2 separate regions of the Homo sapiens genome follow, and region 1 is linked to region 2. The links are contacts of gene promoters, found by promoter capture Hi-C in human tissues and cell types (Jung and others, 2019). All regions are on one chromosome and are shown on one strand. Each heading gives the region's core, a stretch centred on a gene start or on the middle of the fragment in contact. The rest is flanking DNA. Distances are from core to core; before and after follow the strand shown.

Region 1 (2,700 bases), core at 10-2,509, 320 kb before region 2:
AAACCTCGTCTCTACTAAAAAATACAACAATTAGCCGGGCTTGGTGGCGCGCGCCTGTAATCCCGACTACTCGGGAGGCTGAGGCACGAGAATCGCTTGAACCCGGGAGGCGGAGGTTGCAGTGAGCGATGGTGCCACTGCACGCCTGGGCAACAGAATAAAACTCTGTCTCAAAAAAAAAAAAAAAAGGAAGAAGAGAATCTCTCTTAAAGACAGTGTTAGTATTAAAAGACACAAAGCCACATGGAGCACTTAACAGTGCTTGACACAAAACAAGTGCCCAACTAACAAAGAGCTGCTATTATCATTACTACTGTTAGAGACATGCCATCGGAGAAGCGGATGCCCGGCCTAGCATAACCTCCCTCAATGGGCCCCAGGATCCTCATCCCCAAAATGGGGCAGAGGTCAAGCTCTGCCCTGCAGCATCCGAGGGCAACTGTGAAGTAGGGACTGAACTAGCACTGTTGATACCATCCCGTTATACTGTCCTCCTGCTCATCATAATGTGGATTCCTGGAGAGCAAATCTTTGTTCCCGGGAAAACAGCCAGGGTTTAGCACGGTGCCCAACACCTAGTGGGCATTCAATAAACACACACTGAAGAAAGGAGGGAGTCCAAGAGCTGGCTTACTTTCTGCCATACATCGCGCTAAGAGTTTAATGTGGGTAGTATTACTGTCCCCGTTTTACAGATGAGGAAGCTGAGATCCACAGCGGTTAAAGCACCTGTCCAAGGTCACACCGCACGGAACCCAACCCAGGTCTGACTCCACCACCCGATCTCTCGGCCCTCAGGCAACACGGCCTCCCACAATGTGCGTCCCCAGAGCTCCCAGGACGGCCCACCTCGCCCACACCCTCCCAGGGCCCAACCACCCTGGGACCTCCAGTCGCTGCAGCGCAGGGACCACACCTCAGCGGCGGCCCAGAAACCCCCACCCCGCGTAGCAGCAGCCCACTTCCGGCCCGAGACCCCGCCCCCTGAGCAGAGCGCAGCGCGCGCCCCCAGGCCCAGCCCGCGCGCGCCGGGTGACGGCCCCGCCCTTCCCCCACCCGGCTCGAACAGCACCGCCGTGTGGAACGGCCCTGGCGCTGCCCGTAGGGCCTGCCCGCGCACGCCCGGCCTTGGCCCACGCGGCCGCCCCCCCAGCCGCACCCCCCGGGCCCGCTAGCCGGCTCACCGGCTCTCGGCAGAACCGCGTCCACTGCCCGCAACCGGCTCCGGTTCCGTCTTCGTCTCGTTCAAACCGCCAGACCCCGCCCGCCCGCCCGCGCGATGACCTCACACGCACCCCCTCGTTACGCGCCGACGTAAAGGCTCGCCATCCTCCGCCGGCTCCTTTTATAGAGAGGGTCTCAGCCGCGCGCCGGGGGCGGAGCTCGGCCCCTGATCCACAGAACGGTAGCCGAGGGGCGGGGCCCCGACCGCCGGGGCGACTGCGGCACGTGGTCGGTCGCAGCCAATGAGGTCCCGCCTCGGCCCGGTGTGACTCAGTTACAAAATCCCTATGGCAGTAACCAAAAAGAAAATTGCTTTTACAATGAATTTTTTTTTTTTTTTGCTTAGAGATGTATGGAGGTCTCGCTGTGTTGCCCAGGGTGGTCTCGAACTCTTGGCCTCAAGCGATCCTCCCGCCTTAGCCTCCCAAAGCGCTGGGATAACAGGCGTGAGCCACCGCTCCCAGGCTTACAATTAATTTCTGTAAGAATGGGTTATTGAATCATAAAGATACCTAATAGACACTTTGGGGAAACGCTTAGAAGTCAACTTTCTGGGCCGGGTGCAGTGGCTCACGCCTTTAATCCCAGCACTTTGGGAGGCCCAGGTGGGAGGATCACCTGAGGTCAGGAGTTTGAGACCAGCCTGGCCAACATAGTGAAACCCCATCTCTACTAAAAATACAAAAATTAGCCTGGCGTGGTGGTGGGCGCCTGTAATTCCAGCTACTTGGGAAGCTGAGGCAGGAGAATCACTTGAACCCAGGAGACGGAGGTGGCAGTGAGGCGAGACTGCACCACTGCACTCCAGTCTGGGCGACAGAGCAAGACTCTGTCTCAAAAAAAAAAAAAAAAAGTCACGTTCTGTGACGCCCCCGCCCCCCCATCTGCAATATCATGCGGCATATTTTCTTCTTAGTACCATAAGAAGGCATCTTGTGCCTTTACTGTCTGTCTCCTGTAAAGTCCACAGGAGCAAGGACCTCCTGAGTCCTGTTCCGGGTTGTTTCCCAATGGCTGTACATACATTCTCTCTTGCCCACTCCCTCTTTTTTTTTTTTTTTTTTTTAAGAGATGGGGTCTTGCCATGTTGCCCAGGCTGGGCTGGTCTCCTGGGCTCGAGAGATCCACCCGCATCGGCCTCCCAAAGTGCTGGGATTACAGGCGTGAGCCACCACACCTGGCCCTTACATTCTCAAGAGAGCCTTGGCTGAAGGAGGAACTGGGCTGGGCGTGGTGGCTCACACCTGTAATCCCAACACTTTGGGAGGCCAAGGCGGATGAATTACCTGAGGTCAGGAGTTGGAAACCAGCCTGTCCAACATGGCGAAACCCCATCTCTACTAAAAATGCAAAACTTAGCCGGGCATGGTGGTGGGCGCCTGTAATCCCAGCTACTTGGGAGGCTGAGGCAGGAGAATCACTTGAACCTGGGAGGCAGAGGTTGCAGTCAGACTTCGTCTAAAAAAGAAAAAAAGA
Region 2 (2,700 bases), core at 107-2,606:
ACTCGGGAGGCTGAGGCAGAAGAATCACTTGAACCTGGGAGGCAGAGGTTGCAGTGAGCTGAGATCATGCCACTGTACTCCAGCTTGGGCAACAAGAGTGAAACTCTCTCAAAAAAAAAAAAGAAAGAAAGAAATTTCTTCCTTCCTTCACTCAAAAATCATTTCCGAGGTTCCTACTACATGCTGGAGGTCATTCCAAGCACGGAAGATACCACAGTGAATGAGACAGATAAGGTACCCATCCCTAGGAGCTCACAGGCCTGGAGATGATAAACAAGGCAATATAAAAAAATATGCAAAAGGAGGAAATTTGGGGTAGATAATTAAAATAGAGTAAGATGACAGACTGTGCCTCAGGGCAAGAAGGCCTCTCTGAAGAGGCAGCATCCGAGCCAAGGCCTGAATGGTGAGAAGTGGCCAGCCCTGCAGAGATGAAGTGGGAGGGCTTTCCAGGCACAGGAGACAGCACATGCAAAGACCCTGGGGTAGGAACAGCAGTGGGGCTCAGATAGAGGAGTAAGGGGGAGCTATGCCTGGGAGCCGTCTTCAAAGGCAGCTCTCCCAGGGCCTGCCAGCCGGGTGCACATGTGTTGTGATGTGAAGCCTAGTGGTGATCTTTCTCTGCCAGAGGGAAGCAGGGCAGGGACCTGGGCCTGTCTCAGGTCGAAAGTGGAGATGAGCACCTGAGAGGGAGTCCAGCGACTCTGGTTCTAGGTGTGCCTCTGCCCCACGAGTCATCTAACTTCTTTTATTGGGGTGCAGTGATATGATCACAGCTCACTGCAGCCTTGACCTCCTGAGCTCAAGCAATTCTCCCACCTCAGCCTCCTGAGTAGCTGGGACCACAGGTGCTCAACACCGCGCCCAGCTAATGTTTGTATTTTTTGTAGGGATGGGGTCTCGCCATGTTGCCCAGGCTGGTCTTGAACTCCTGGGCTTAAGCATTCCCCCACCTCAGCCTCCCCAAAGTGCTGGGACGTGAGCCACTGCGCCCCAGCCATCTAACTTCTTCATGCTGCAGCTTCCCTGTTACTAGATCAGCAGGTTTGGGTCAGACATCTGTGGCTTTCAAATTTTACATTTTGATGGAGGAACCCCTTTCTTCAAGGGACTGTCTTCTGGGGAGGAAGTTGAGTGGGTCAGGGGTCAGCAGCAGACAGGCATGTTGCTGGCAATGCTGGGCACGGAGCCCAGAGCCCGCCTACCTACCCCTTTCGTCCCCAGCAGCCCATCTGCCTCTCCTGCACCACCTCAGGAATAGGCCCGGGCAGCCCTGAGCTTTGGCTTGCGGTGCCGAAGATAGTCAAGGAGAGGGGCTCGATCCAGCACAACCACAAGCAGCCTCCTCGACAGATATGAGTCACAGAGCCCATGCCCTGCCAGCCCCATGGTCATTCTAAGGCTCTGGCATTTAGAATGGCTCTAAATACCTCAAGAGATAAGATAGAAACAGAAGATGTTCTTTAACTGGGATACTCCTGTGGCTGAGGAAGTGCCCAGGCACACTTGTGCTGCAGCCGTGACAGTTTTCCCTCCTTCAGAGTCCACAAGTGAGGGAACTAAATGCTTGTCTGCTCCCCAGGCACCACAGTACGCACAGCAGGTGCCTGGACGTAGCGTAGCACCCCTGTGTCCTCTTCAAAGAGTCAAGAGGCTCCTGTGTCCTCTTGAAAGAGAAAAGGCCACATGGGAGTGGGGGATCCTTGCCATCTAGTCCACCCGCGGACAGGAGCCATGTGAATAAGCCAGGAATGCTTTTGACTACAGGCCCCCAAACCCAGTTGACTATAGCAAAACATGAAGTTATTTTACTCCTAAAACAAGAAGAATGGAGGAGCCGCCGCTGGTGCCATTTGCAATGTTGGGTTGGTGTCTCTGTGATGTTATTGAGGCTTTTCCTCATGGTTGCAAGTTGCCTGCTATTGCTCCAACCTTGTCCACATTCGAGGCATTGTGTTGATGTCTCATTGCTGCAAAAGGGTCACGTGGTTCCCAGTTGTAAGGGAGGCTGGGAAAGAAAGAATTTCATGTTTCTACCCTCTGTGGTTGAAAAAGATAAGGGAGAATGTTGATTCAGGGCATAATATCAAGAAAACTGGTTCACAGTCTCTGCCACAGCCTGGGCACCATCAACTAAACTTTGACAATCACTTTGGGTGTTAAGATGCCGAAGGCTTGGGCAGAGAAAAAGAATGGAAAAGAAAGGAAACGGGGAAAGTGGGGAGGAAGAAGAGAGGAGAGGGAGGTAGGCAGGGGAGCAGGAACAGCAATTGTTGGGGGCCTTCTGTGTGCTGGGTACCCCCAGACACAGAACTCAGTTCCTCAGCACACAGGGAAACTGAGGCTCGGCTTTAGAGAGCTTAAGTAATTTGTTTGTGTGTGTGTGTGTGTTGTGTGTTTTTTTTTTTTTTTTTTTTTTTTTTTTTCCCGAGATTATCTCACTCTGTGGCCCAGGCTGGAGTGCAGTGGCATGATCTCAGCTCACTGCAAGCTCCACCTCCTGGGTTCAAATGATTCTCCTGTCTCAGCCTCCCAAGTAGCTAGGATTACAGGCATGTGCCACCACACCCAGCTAATTTTTGTATTTTTAGTAGAGACCAGGTTTCACCATGTTGGTCAGACTGGTCTTGAACTCCTGACCTCAGGTGATCCACCTGCCTTGGCCTCCCAAAGTGCTGGGATTATAGGCATGAGCCACTG

The links. The method cuts DNA at HindIII sites, captures the fragments that hold promoters and counts their contacts. A contact is called where the count stands out against the background at its distance.
Region 1: the fragment with the promoter of MAPRE1 here is called in contact with a fragment that was not itself captured in region 2 in 1 of the 25 tissues and cell types used here (lymphoblastoid cells).

Annotation. Positions count from the first base shown.
Region 1 is chr20:32,818,513-32,821,212 of GRCh38, reverse strand. MAPRE1 (microtubule associated protein RP/EB family member 1) reads right to left here and starts at 1,259. Exons shown (of 7, transcript NM_012325.3): 1 at 1,185-1,259. RefSeq lists enhancers at 1-210, 211-880 and a silencer at 953-1,542. The HindIII fragment of the contact is 10,810 bases long and covers 1-2,700 here.
Region 2 is chr20:32,493,980-32,496,679 of GRCh38, reverse strand. The region is part of intron 4 of NOL4L (nucleolar protein 4 like); the gene reads left to right. Among named protein-coding and RNA genes, the nearest start is that of NOL4L-AS1, 66 kb to the left of the region's middle. The HindIII fragment of the contact is 4,356 bases long and covers 1-2,700 here.